4 separate regions of the Homo sapiens genome follow, and regions 2, 3 and 4 are each linked to region 1. Evidence: promoter capture Hi-C in human tissues and cell types (Jung and others, 2019). All regions are on one chromosome and are shown on one strand. Each heading gives the region's core, a stretch centred on a gene start or on the middle of the fragment in contact. The rest is flanking DNA. Distances are from core to core; before and after follow the strand shown.

The links. The method cuts DNA at HindIII sites, captures the fragments that hold promoters and counts their contacts. A contact is called where the count stands out against the background at its distance.
Region 2: a contact is called between a fragment that was not itself captured here and the fragment with the promoter of TRMT11 in region 1, in 1 of the 25 tissues and cell types used here (lymphoblastoid cells).
Region 3: a contact is called between a fragment that was not itself captured here and the fragment with the promoter of TRMT11 in region 1, in 1 of the 25 tissues and cell types used here (mesenchymal stem cells).
Region 4: a contact is called between a fragment that was not itself captured here and the fragment with the promoter of TRMT11 in region 1, in 1 of the 25 tissues and cell types used here (thymus).

The regions. Positions count from the first base shown.
Region 1 is chr6:125,985,007-125,988,300 of GRCh38, reverse strand. It overlaps TRMT11 (tRNA methyltransferase 11), which reads right to left and starts at 1,761. Exons shown (of 13, transcript NM_001031712.3): 1 at 1,679-1,761. The coding sequence starts at 1,750. RefSeq lists enhancers at 878-1,707, 1,241-1,730, 1,708-2,538. The HindIII fragment of the contact is 9,309 bases long and covers 1-3,294 here.
Region 2 is chr6:126,716,071-126,719,488 of GRCh38, reverse strand. The region is part of intron 3 of LOC105377992 (a long non-coding RNA gene); the gene reads right to left. LOC105377993 (a long non-coding RNA gene) reads left to right here and starts at 2,079. Exons shown (of 3, transcript XR_001743837.2): 1 at 2,079-2,156. RefSeq lists a silencer at 214-323 and enhancers at 404-543, 554-633. The HindIII fragment of the contact is 7,584 bases long and covers 1-3,418 here.
Region 3 is chr6:126,796,294-126,799,822 of GRCh38, reverse strand. No RefSeq gene overlaps it. Among named protein-coding and RNA genes, the nearest start is that of MIR588, 310 kb to the right of the region's middle. The HindIII fragment of the contact is 6,690 bases long and covers 1-3,529 here.
Region 4 is chr6:125,413,453-125,416,727 of GRCh38, reverse strand. The region is part of intron 1 of LOC102723341 (a long non-coding RNA gene); the gene reads left to right. Among named protein-coding and RNA genes, the nearest start is that of HDDC2, 110 kb to the right of the region's middle. The HindIII fragment of the contact is 8,096 bases long and covers 1-3,275 here.

The DNA.
Region 1 (3,294 bases), core at 512-3,011:
CAGTGATTACTAAACCAAGCCACCTGGCTTCTCCTACTAAAACTCAACATATTCGCTTTAGCAAAAATCACCAATTAATTATCTTCTAATTGAGACTATCAATGACACTTTTTCATTCTTTTCTCACTAAAAAGCAACTGCATTCGACATTTATCCATTTGTCCCTGCTTCCTAAAACTTTACCCTTCTGATTTCTGCGGTCTCACATCCTTCTGGCACTTGCCCATCTTCTTCATGGCCTCCTCCGACTTTCCCTTAATATCAATGCTTCCAAGCATCTATACTTGGCCCGCTACTCTTTTGACCTTATCCTTTGAGTAATTTCTTCCCCGCTCCTAGTTTTCATATGAAGAAGACTCCCAAATATTTATCACTAGTCCAGATCACTCTGCCATACTCTATGCATATTCATATATCCACCGCCTCTTGGTCATCTCAGGTTGATGTTACACAACCACATCAAATTCAGTGTAAACAAAATTTAAATCTTACATCTGCCTATGTTCTCTATTTTAAATGGAGACACTCCTACCTATATACACCCCAGGAGTCATACCTGACTGGTGCCCCTTTCCCACATATTCAATCAATCCAGCCTTAATGACTGTATGGCCTAAATATTTTCCCAGTCTATCCCATCCTCTTACTCCTTGCCCTAGGTCAGACCTTCTTAATCTATTAACAAGACTATTCCCACAGACTCCTAGTCTCTGGCTCAAGTCTTATTCTTTTCAAATCCATCCTCCATAGTGTTGTCAAACTGATTTAATTTTGTGGTCACTTTTTTACTTAAGGCTTTTCAATAAATCCCCCTTCCAAGCTCCAGGGTACTCAAGGTTTTCATTTTCTGGCCTCGATCTACTTCCCTTGCTCTCTTCTTACCACTCTGCCACATAACTAGTGATCCAGTAATAATGAACACCTTGTAATTCTAATTTACTGATTTATCTCCTTGGCCCTCTAACTCCTATTCATCCTTTATTTCAAGTGTCATCTCCTCTGGAAGCCCTCTTAAAGGCCAACATCCCCAACCCCTCAGGTAGATTAGATTTCCCTTCCACGTGCTCTCATATTTCCATGTGCATCTATCACTGCACTTACCGACGCTCTTTTGTCATTCTACGCCTATGTGTCTGCTCAGCCCTTACTCTAAACAGTAAGCTCCTAGAGGGCAGAGATTGCTTACATCATCGTTACATGCCCAGCGTACCGATCTTCGACTACATGCATTCTGAAAACGTTTCTTGAATAAATAAAACACTCTTCTCAACTTCTCCATCATCTAATCCCCACCACCATCCCCTCCACTGAGCTTGATCCGCAGATTCCAATACTTCAAACACCAGCCTGAGCATTTGTTAGCTGTCTCTATTCTCCGCTAGACGAAGAGCTCCGGGAGTGAGATGACCGGTCATATTCACCTGCCTAACTCCGGTACTTGATACACGGGCAAAAGAATGAAAAGTTTAAGCAGGCCGAGGGGTTTGGTCTCGGACTTCTCTCACACACACCCTCCGCCAAGCTCACCCCGCCCGAGGACTGGGGACGCGTGACCCGCGCAGACCAGCGAAGACCCCCGAATCCCAGCTTCCTCGGGCTATGCAGATCACCTCCACCCACTCCACTCCACTCCAGCGTCCTCTTCCGTCGGAAGTTCCGGAGGGCGCTACGGACTCACCGGCAGGCGGAACTCCAGATGCTCCTGCGCCATGAGGAGCAGATACCTGTTAAGGGTACACGACAGCGCCATTGCAGCTGCCCACCGTGCGCCTGCGCGGCCCGCGCTAGGTCCCTCTTTCTCCCTCCCAAAGCCCAGTCTCCACAGAGACAGAGCCTGAAGGGCCGGAAGCGGAAGCTCTGCGAGGCAGGCGCTATCCCGACGTTTCTCGCGCTCCGAGTCCGAAACTCCGGCCGCTGTGGGAGGGGCTTCCTCACCTGTGAATGCCTGGTGGTTAGGGGTCTCCCAGCGCTGGTAGCTGGTGAGCGGGGACGCGTGGCTTTCAGGAGCAGCCTGTGATAATAAGACAGTATATTTCCAAGTTATCGTTCCACTTGGAGTGTGCTTCCAGCTTTCTCTACAGCCCTTCAAAACCTGTTCTTCAAAATTGGACTGAAATTTCACCATTTCCTTGGAAATTTCACCATTTCCTTGTAGGTTTGTCTAACCAGCACAGCTTTGGGAACTGATTTAGTTGGGCCAGTCATTTAACAGTATATTTTTCGTATTTATGTAACAACTTTTCGAGAGCACATGCCTTATAACCCAATTATAATAAACTCTTGAGGTCTGATATAATCTTTTATGGTTCACTCTATTCTTAACAAAAACCAAAAGAATATCTTCCTCAAAGTAGGCAATAATTATTAGGTTGTGTTATTTGTTAGACTCAGGACTAAATCCACAGCCAGCCATAAATTAAAACTTGGAGAAAGCTCACACTGGCACAGATTTCATAGCAGATAGTTTATGAAATATATTTTAATTGCATATTCTATGTATATATGTGACTTTTTTTTTTTAAGACAATCTTGCTCTGTCACCCAGGTGAGTGCAGTGGCGCAATCATAGCTCACTGTAACCTTGAACTCCTGGTCTCAGGGGATACTCCTACCCTAGTCTCCCAAAGTGCTAGAATTACGGGCTCAAGCCCTCCCTCTGGGCTATTTCTGCTTTTGAGAGTACCGAGCCCTTTGCCCTATTAAAAATTATTTATTTTGCATTTCTCTGTGGTATTGTACAAGGTGCAAAAGAGTATGTATCTGGCATATCCCCAGCGGCATGTGCCAGAAACGTAGTTGATGCGCAGTGGTAGTGATTAAGAACATAGGCTGTGGTGTCAATATTAGATTCAAACCTCACTTCCACCATTTACCATGTATATGCTCTTAACCTCTCCGAGCTTGAGTTTTCTTTTAAAAATGGAAAAACACACTGCCTCCTGCAAAGGATTGTTACAAGGATTAAGTGGAATAATGTTCATAAAGTGTTGAATATAACATCTGGCATATTGAATGGGGCCAATAAGTGGCACTTGACATTTTTCTTAAGAAAATCACATGAGAATTTTTGTTAGCAAGAGATCTGTTTTTGTTAGGAATATGTCTCAAGTTCACTTGTGCTAAGTGACTCTGAGAAGCATAGCTGTCTCTTGACCCCAAAACTTCAGAAAAGGGGGTAAAAGTACTTTGAGACAAGAAAAGTTGTTTACTATTTGAGAAGAGAGGCCAAGGTTGGGACAGAAAACCAATGAGATGTTGGGGAAATGATGTGCAGTACTTGATATGCCCCATCCC
Region 2 (3,418 bases), core at 64-2,563, 730 kb before region 1:
AGTACCCCAAAAGAAAACAATTATTTCCAATATATTTTAAGATTGAAGAGAAAGTATTGATTTGAATCATTTTCCCACTGGTTCATGGAAAAAAACAACTCATAAAATGAGTTTGATGGGCACAAAGAATTAACTTTGACCTTTCTTTGGCTTCAGAGGATCCAGGTCAACTTGGAGAGACTGGAAGTGTTATGACACAGGAGAGGCCAATGGGACACAGCCCCACACTCAGAAAACTGCTCCCTCTCACACAGCCAGCCAGCAACAGCCTTTCACAGTGATGTTGCTTCTCTTTCTATGTCAGGGTTAAGGTCATTTTTAGGGCACAGCGAGGAAATGTAGAGGCCCGGGCTGTCTGCACCACATCTGTGCTGTGAGAAACAGGGGGTTTCAGTTTCCAGCCTCTGAATATCACACAACCTAACCTTTACCTGCCTGCCCTCACCCTAGTACACAAAAAGCATAAAAATAAAATTAGACGTTTCAGAGTATGGACTAGCAAGGTCAAAGGTAGACATTCCTGAAACACATTAGGACCTTAGGACCTTCAGAAAAAGGTAACCGATACAGGCAGAGCCTTATTATTCAGCTATGATCATACAGTCTCCTGTTTAGTTATTTTACAGGATAAGAAAGGGTTGGGAGGTGAGTGTGTAGAAACTATATTTCAGTTACTGTTTTGGTACATATGGGGGCAGAAATCTCAGGTTATTTATAAGTATACAGGTTACTGAGGGCTGTATTTGCAAATATAACCAGTTTCTTATCATCTAGAGCTTATTCTTATATTTACTTCATTAATCACCAATCACACTTCTGGAATATAGAACAGAAGCAGTGAAATTGACATTGGAAGGGACATAAAGAGAGGAAGCATTTTACTGTGTGGTTCTGGAGCTAGTGAACTCTTAGAGAATAGGAACCCAATAATCTTACTCATAAGTATAAAAACATCATTAATAAAAGCTAGTATTGACTTAACACTTTTCCTAAGCTGTGAGCTGCCTTTTGCGCTTTCCATGTGGTACTTTGTCAATCCTCATAACATATCTGTGAGCTATTATAATTATTGGCATTTCAATATGATGAGAAAATTGGGACCGTTTCTTCATATTTAATATAATTTTTCTATATTGACCCACAAAGTAGCTGAATATTCCCAATGTGTTCATGGCATTCAAAAACAGCAAGTGCTATTGCCCATTTACAATGAAGGAAACATGTCACTAGTGGTGCTTGTGATGCCCTTGGGTTTCTCTGAGATTGTACAGATGTAAGTTCTTGATTTACTAAGCCATGCTAACTGAGAAATCTTTTAACTGAAAATAGTAATAAAGAAGGGAAAAATAACCTTTAGAAATACGACATAAATTGGTGCAGAAAGTGGTGCAGAACCAGGCTATGGGTAGGACAAGAGACAATTATCAGTGAGGTATGGTTTAAGGGGCAGTGGAAGTTTGCTTACACCAGACATTTACCTCCAGTTCAGGCTTTGCAATTAGACAAAGCTAGAATCAAACACTAATTTTATTATAGCTATTGTGACTGTCTTTGAGCAGAAGTTTAATTCGTCCAAAAGTTGCCGTGAGAATGAAGCTAGGCAATGAATGTCAATACTTTGAATGTGACAAGTCTTCCAATACATTTTGTTTCCTTTGTTCTCCTTTTCTAACTTGTCTTCCTTCCTGTGATTTAAAGTGAGGGTTTAAAATGAGGAATTTTCATATAATGAGTGATAGAAACATATGAAAGTATTAGAACCTGCCCTTGGAAGAACCACTATCTAATGTTATACTTTGTGACCTAGAAAAGGCTTTCAGCTCTTAAACATTTTCCAATCATTTAGATATTTATTCAGGCTAACAAAAATAACAAACTCAGGAATCTATACAAATAATTAGCTTGTCCAAAAATGGCACTACATTTTACATTGTATTAGGAAAGAGAAATTGCAATACCATAATATTGGTCAATGTTATTTATTATCTCTTGGTCTTTTCCTGTTTCTCACCAGGTTCCTATAAAGTTCCTGATAGTTGAAGAAAGTCAGGAGATCTTAGAAACTGACTTTCATTTATAACCTGCTGATTCACCTAGATCAGGTTACTGGGAAGAAATCCAAGTCAGACCTCCTGACCTACTCGAAACAGCATGAGGTATGCCCTGCCACTAAATCCTGATTCCTGTGTACCTCACCCTGTCACTAAATATGATTTAGAGAAACCTTTAGAAATCAGGTAAAAGGATTTAGTGCTTTACATGTAGGTTACAGCTGCTGGACTAGCTTTTATAGTAACGTAAGTAAGTAATTTATTAAATGGCTCAGTCATTAGATATACCAGGCCTTTAAAACATTCTTGTGAGGGAGGCTACTCTGGGGAGTGAGAAGATTAGCATTTCTCAGCAGCAAGTATTTTTGACAAGATTAATGAGGCACAGGGCAGAGGGATCTGTTTCCCCCTTTGTGTCTGCTCTCCTGGTTTCCTTGCCCTTTATTTGGTTGTCTTTTCCTCTGTGGCACCTGCTGTCACCGACATGGATGAGATGCCAAAACAGCATTCCTTTACTTCAACACTCTTCACACCTTCTTCTTCCCCCTTCTTTCTCCCCAGGAGTTATTCCTTTCTCCTCTTCTGGGATTGGCAAGGACATTATTTTAGTTTTCAATAAGAAATGCCTGATAGGCATTTTCACATTAGAAGAAATAAAATTAGGAACAAGATCAGAAACAGTTCTCAGTGATTCCTTTTATAAAAGGAAATCAGTTATATAGGAGATCATTTTAAAAGTACATATCTGTTCTAATACATCTTGTGTGTTCTTTCAGACCCATCACCATCTCTATGGTACCAGTTTTGCCTGTTAACAGGATATAATTTGCTTCATATACTGATCATTTGATAGAATGTGTATGTTCTCATTTTTTTTCTCATGTTCTCAGGAACAAAAGCAGGACAGACACTGCCCTGCTTTTGTAAGCTTACTTTCCTTCAAAAAGAATTATATCGTGCAGACTAATAACAAGTGTACTTTCCTTTAACAAAGTCCCCAACTTCACTTCTGTTTGTTCCTCTTCCAGCTCAATTTCCCCTTGTTGTCTTCCAATAAGTTGCCATCCTTCTTACCCACAAGTCTCCTAAGTATGTCTTTTGGTTTGACAAAACACATTTTTTACATCTTATAAAAGCTAATATAGCAGAATTTCCCATTTGTATTTTTAGCATCTGCCAACAAATGTTTGCGATGATCCCAAGCCCGAGTTATTTTTAGGTCTAAAGTAATGGCAGAGGTATTTAAAAGCTTAACAGATGGTAATATCTGTGGCTACCCAATGGGCATCCCTGGGTTGGATGAGGGCCTGGGAGTCTGGAAAGTTGGGAGATCAGCAAAAGGTACAAAAAATACCAGATTTCAGGAA
Region 3 (3,529 bases), core at 362-2,861, 810 kb before region 1:
ACCTTCATATTGTTTTCCATAATGGCTGTACTAATTTACATTCCCACCAACAGTGCACAAGGGGTGCCTTTTTTCTACATCCTCACCAACATTTATCTCTTGTCTTTTTAGTAACAGGATGAGGTGATATATCTGATTGTGGTTTTTAACTCCCCTTCCCTGAAAATTAGTAATACTGAGTACCTTTTTATATACTTGTTGGCCATTTGTATGTCTTCTTTGGAAACATGTCTATTAAGGTCTTTTGCCCATTTTTAGATTAGGTTGTATTTTTTTTGCGCTTGAGCTGGGTGAGTTTCTTATATACTTTGGTTATTAACCCTTTATCAGACACATGGTTTGCACATATTTTCTTCCATTCTATAGGTTGCCTTTTGATTTTGTTGATTATTTCCCTTGTTGTGAAGAAGCCTTTTATTTGATATAGTTCCTCTTGTTTACATTTGCTTTTGTTGCCAGCATCAAGTTCTTTTTAAGACCCTTTTGTTTCTGGCATTGTGTTTCTGTGATTCTGACTATCTCCTTAATGATAATTTTATGCCTTATATTTTACCACCTGCTTTTAACTTTTGCCATCTACTTTTCTCTCTATCTACTGGTTTCTATAAGCTCTGCTTTTCTTTGCTGACTTTTCATTCACTCAATTTCTGCCTTGATTTTGCCATTCCTACCTTCTGGCCAAGTAACCTCAGACAAAGGAAAATAAATCTTGGGGCCCCAAATCACTAAACTAAAGGAAAAAGTCAAGTTGGGAATTGCTTACGGCAAAACTGCCTTCCATTCTATTCAAAGTTACCCCTCTGCTCACTGAGATAAACGCATATCACATTGTCTCCTTTGGAAAGGCTAATCATAAACTCAAAAGAATGCAACCATTTGTCTCTTATCTACCTATGACCTGGAAGCCCCTGCCTCGCCTTTCCAGACCAAACCCATGTTCATCCTACATATGTTATGGATGTCTCACTTCTCCCTAAAATGTATAACATTAAACTGCTCTGACCACCTTGGGCACATGTTGTCAGGACCTCCTGAGGCTGTGTCATGGGTGTGTGTCCTCAACCGTGGCAAAATAAACTTCCTAAATTAACTGCGACCTGTCTCTGATATTCAGGGTTCACACCCCAATATTCTTGGCTGGGAAATTATCTCAAGCTCTCAGAATTCTTGAGATAATGGAAACGTCTATGGAAGCAATTATTCATTATTTGGTATTCATCATAAAGATGGCCCAAATTAAAAAACAACAGCTAAGACAATGAGAAAACATTCTTGTTCACAGAGAATGGGGAAAAAATTGGAATAGATTTACTGCTTAGATTTTTATTGAATATGCAAATTATGATAGAAATTTGCAAAAAGAATTTTAATATGCTGTCTCGATATAACTGAAAACTGCTTCCTCTAAAAAAGTTATCTAAAAAGAAAAAAGTGCAGATAAATGTTTGTGTATATTAGTGGTAAAATCAAGGTTAAAAGTTAAGGTATAGTCGGTAGAAAATTATTATATAATGTAGAAGAGAAAAGGAGTTATATAAAAGATTTTCATTATCCATTGTTTATCCATGTGTTGTTGAAATGTGGCTTTGATATGAAGCCAATGAAGTTTGCATTTTCCACATTTTCTTTCCAGTGAGTAATTAATCCCCACAATTTATTAGTCACTTCAGTTTCAGAGGGCCTTGTGACACTAAACCACCTTCCCTTTCGAAACAGTGAAAGATAAAAGAATCTTTTGCATTTTATGGCATATTAAACTTTAGAGTAAATATATTTTAATCTACTTGAAGTTCCTTTTCATAAAAAGTATTGTTATCTTTTCTTTTCTTTTCTTTTCTTTTCTTTTTTTTTGGGGGGACAGAGTCTCACTGTGTTGCCCAGGCTGGAGAGCAGTGGTGCTATCTCGTCTCACTGCAATCTCCGCCTCCCGGGTTCAAGAGATTCTCCTGCCTCAGCCTCCTGAGTAACTGGGATTACAGGCGCCCACCACCAAGCCCGGCTAATTTTTGTATTTTTAGTAGAAATGGGGTTTCACCATGTTGGTCAGGCAGGTCTCCAACTCCTGACCTCGTGATCCACCCGCCTCGGCCTCCCAAAGTGCTGGGATTACAGGCGTGAGCCACTGCGCCTGGCCATATTGTTATCTTTTCATACTATGACCACCATAACCTATATCTGACATTTTGAGACACATCTTAAACTATCCCATTTTATTTCTACTTCCAGTAATATGTATTACCAAAACAATATTTTTAAGGTTTATTGGAATGACTTCCAGTGGCTCTTCGGATAAAACACAAATCCCTACACACCCAACAGCCCGCATGGACATGCATTGTCACATTTGGCTCTTGCTTCAACATGGGCCTCTCTTCCCTTGCTCTCCTCACACCAGGTTCTTAGGTCTTCTTTCTGCTCCTTTTCACTGGAAGGCTATTGTCCCTGTTGTTTCCCTTGATTGTGTTCTTCTTTACCCTTCATAACATCCTTCTATTCATGATTATTTCCTACTCTTTTAAGTCAGGCTAATGGGATATTAATTAGAGAGCATAAATATCCTAATTTAAAATTACCTGACTATCTGCCTCCCCTTCTACAATGTAAGCTCCATAACTGCAGGGACCGTGTTGGTCCTGTGCAGTCCTCTATAGTCAGAGCTTAGCATGGTGCCTCCTACAGGGTAAGGACTCAAAAAATATTTATTCAATATAGACATGAACAAATACATGAAGAATGAATGGAACAATTGAAATTCATCATCTTTCTGTTAATTTATAATTTTCTTTTTTTCCCCAGTGTTTTTACTTTCTTATGCCATAGTGACGTTGGAGCTGGCTGTCATAAGATGTAGTATTTGTCAAAATGGGGTGCCAGTTGATGCTTATGGAAAAAGAATTAGAGAATGGCAAGCATGCTGATCTCGTTGTTCTTCCCCACTAAGTCCCTGAAAGAGAGATGAATGCAGAGAATAATGCCAAATAAGGGGTTTAACCCAGGTTTTAGTGAGAACTTTCAAAAGCCAGGATATAAGCAGAGGAAATTCCTTTTAAGTAGGCTAAATTGGTTTAGATGGCCTAAAATTAAAGCAAGTCAAAAGCCTTGATTTCTCTTCCCCTATCAATTCACTAGAATCTTGAATCTTATTATTCCAGTGATAAAAAGACCAGTCAAGAGTTCTCAGGCATCGAGAAGAAAGCAGATAAATGAAAGATCTTGAGCAGGCACAGTGGTCTAAGAGTATTTCTCACAAAGCCTAGATGGAAGGAAGTGGCTGGAAGGGAAGCCAGTGGTGCCAGTTGAGATATAAACTTTGAGAAACCATTGCTCTAGTTTATATATAGGATTTCAGGTGACTCAAGAACAGAGGTCTAATGAATCTCTATCTTTCATAGGACTCTTAAAAAATGTGTATGGTTGTTTTTTTTTTTTTTTTTGAGAGGTAGTCTCTTTCTGTTACCCAGGCTGGAGTGCAGTGGGGCGCTATCTTGGCTCACTGCAACCTCTGCTTCCTAGGTTCAACCAATTCTCA
Region 4 (3,275 bases), core at 181-2,680, 570 kb after region 1:
TCTAGGTGGGCTTCTTATGTGGTTTTCCTATCCTCACAGCTTTAAGAACCCTGTTGAAAGTGACTCCTATATCTGTATTTTTAGATCAGAACTTCTCCAGGCCCACATAGCCTACTGGCCCCTCCATGGGCGCCTCAAGCCCAATACCATTAAACCCACATGTTTTCTTCTCCCTCAAACTTATGCATCCTCTTGCTTTCCCCATTTTGCTTAAGGAATTTAAGTACCCAAGCCAGTCTTTCCTAACTAAACTACTTCCTCATGGGTAAACATCATGTTTTCCTTTTCTTTTTATCTTGTTAGCTCCAATCCTAGTAGCATGCCTGCCATTTAGTAGATGCTCCAAAACTTTTTAGCTAAATAAATTAATAAAAAAAGAATAAGATATGATAAGACTTCTCTATTATTTAGAGATAGCTAGAATGGGTCTTGCTTGAAAGAAAAAGAATGAAGTAGATGACCTCTTAGGATTCCCTCCGGCAAAATATTAAAAAAGAAAAGAAAAAAATGTCTTTGCCTTGTTTACCAAGAGAATCACAGGCTGACTTGTGGTTTTCATGGTGTTTTACAGTTAAAAAATGTTTCTTTTGTTTATATTTCATTTCTGACCCATTTAATAAAGTAAGTTAGATGACTAATTGGTGTTGATGCAATACAGTTAGTCATAGACATTGAATCTATGAACTAGTTTCTTAGTTCAAAGATTTGGTGTTGTCCTAAGTATCAATAATGCAACTTTGATCACAAGACATTCTGACCTAATTATTATATTCTTCTGGTCATTTCTTTTCTGTAGGACAAAGCCAAATGCAGTGCTTATAATAAATAGTCTCTTCTCCACAATGCCATATTTGCTCAGAATATCCCATCATAGAAAAATGTGATGGTTCATAGAAAGGACATGAGGGGCTGAGTGTGGTGGCTCACACCTGTAATCCCAGCACTTTGGGAGGCCGAGGCAGGCAGATCACGAGGTCAGGAGATCAAGACCATCCCAGCTAACATGGCGAAACCCCGTCTCTACTAAAAATACAAAAAATTAGCCGGGCATGGTGGCATGCGCCTGTAGTCCCAGCTACTTGGGAGGCTGAGGCAGGAGAATCACTTGAACCAGGGGTGTGGGGGTTGCAGTGAGCAGAGATTGCACCACCACACTCCAGCCTGGACGACAGAGCGAGACTCCATCTAAAAAAAAAAAAAAAAAAAAAAAGAGAGAGACATGAGGGAGAATGATGTACTTGGCAGCCAAGAACACAAACTCAACCTAATCTAAGTCTGATCTCCTTGGCTTAGAACTAGAACAGGACAATCAGTCTGAGGGCTCAAGGAAATACAGACAATAGTCTGAAAAGACATTAATTACACCTCAGTACTTTTTTGCCTATGGGAGAATTCTGTGTGTTTGCTACATGGAAACATTTGTTTCAATCTAGACATGTGCAGCTCAGGAAGTATGGATGAATGTGATTGCAACGGGAGCGAAGAGGTAGGGAGCTAGGAGAGATGCCAAAAAATGTGGGCACACCATGAGGTCCAATAGGAACCACACTTTAGTCAGAAGATATGGTCCTATGGTCATTCTATTGCATTGACAACCTCCCTATCCCTCTACAACACTCATGTCCTTCACTCCATAAACCTTGACCTTGTTATACGTAGCACATATATTCTTATATCTCTATCTATTAACATATATGTTTCACAGTAGGTTTAGATATCCTGTTGGCTCTTAAGAACCTTGAGGTCAACCTTTATATCTATTTTCTTTTCTTCTGCCCTGGATTACTCTATGATTTGTGGCTTTGAATAAATGTTACTGACTGATATGGTTTGGCTGTGTCCCCACCCAAATCTCATCTTAAATTCCCACGTGTTACTGGAGGAAGCCAGTGGGAGGTAATTGAATCATGGGAACAGGTTTTTCCTGTGCTCTTCTTGTGGTAACAAATAAGTCTCACAAGATATGATGGTTTTAAAAAGGAAAGTTGCCCTGCACAAGCTCTTTTTGCCTGCTGCCATCCATGTAAGACATGACTTGCTCCTTTATGCCTTCTGCCATGATTGTGAGGCTTCCACAGCCACGTGGAACTGTAAGTCCAATTAAACTTCTTTGTTTTGTAAATTGCTCAGTCTCAGGTATGTCTTTATCAGCAGCATGAAAATGCACTAATACACTGACCAAGCTATTTACATTTTGCAATCTCAGAAAATTCTTTATGAGAAGAGTAAGAATTCTATGAAGACCTGTGACTAAAAACATGATGTGAAGGACAGCTCTGGCTAACATGGCTGTGCTGTCTTATTTATGTATAGGAGTTTTGTTTTTGTTTTTGTTTTTGTTTTTAGGACAAAGCTACCAATTTTTAACCCATTTATTCATTTGTTTTTAAAACAAATATCAAGTACCTGAGTATTACTCTTAGTTAAATTCAGAAAAGAAAACTGAGATTTCTGTTTCATATACACCTTATACACACAACCTGAAGGTAATTTTATACAATATTTTAAATAATTTTGTGCAGAAAACAAAATTTTGACTGTGTTTTGACTGTGAGCCATGATAGAAGATCAGGTGTAAAATTTTTCACTTTTGGCGTCACGTCAGTGCTCAAAAATTCTTGGATTTTGGAGCATTTTGAATTCAGATTTTCAGAACAGAAATGCTCAACTTGTGTAAGAGAGAGCAAGCTTACTTTTATATACTTGTATTTCTTTCTGTTAATGTCTTATTCGTGTTCTTTGTTCATTTTTAAATCATTTTTGTTGCTCTTGATTTATAATAGCTCTTTGTATATTAAGAAAATTAGCCCCCATCTGTCATATGCATCTTAAATATTTCCTATCTGTTCTGTGATTTTCATATTCTTATTTCTTATTTATTTTATACGTTATAGAACTTTAATATTATTATCCAGTCAGATTTGTCTTTTTTTTCATTTTGGATTCTTGGTTTTATGTCATCTTTAGGAAATCCTTCTCCATTTCATGATGATTTTGAAAAATCTAGTGCTTTTGTATTTTTAGTGCCTCTTTACATACGTGCATACATAAAATTATTATTTCTCACCACTGCAAGTGAAGTGTAACAAAAGCATGAAATGGTCAAAACTTGAAGGCAAGCACTGGCTCCGACACTTTGCTGTTTCATCAAGCTCTAGTCTTCAAGCTGTTGTCCTCTCTACAAAATGTAGATCAAGATAAACATTTCACAAGGACTTCATGGGGCTTAAATTATATTTGCAAATAAAAGAAATTTATAAACAAAAAAAATCGTA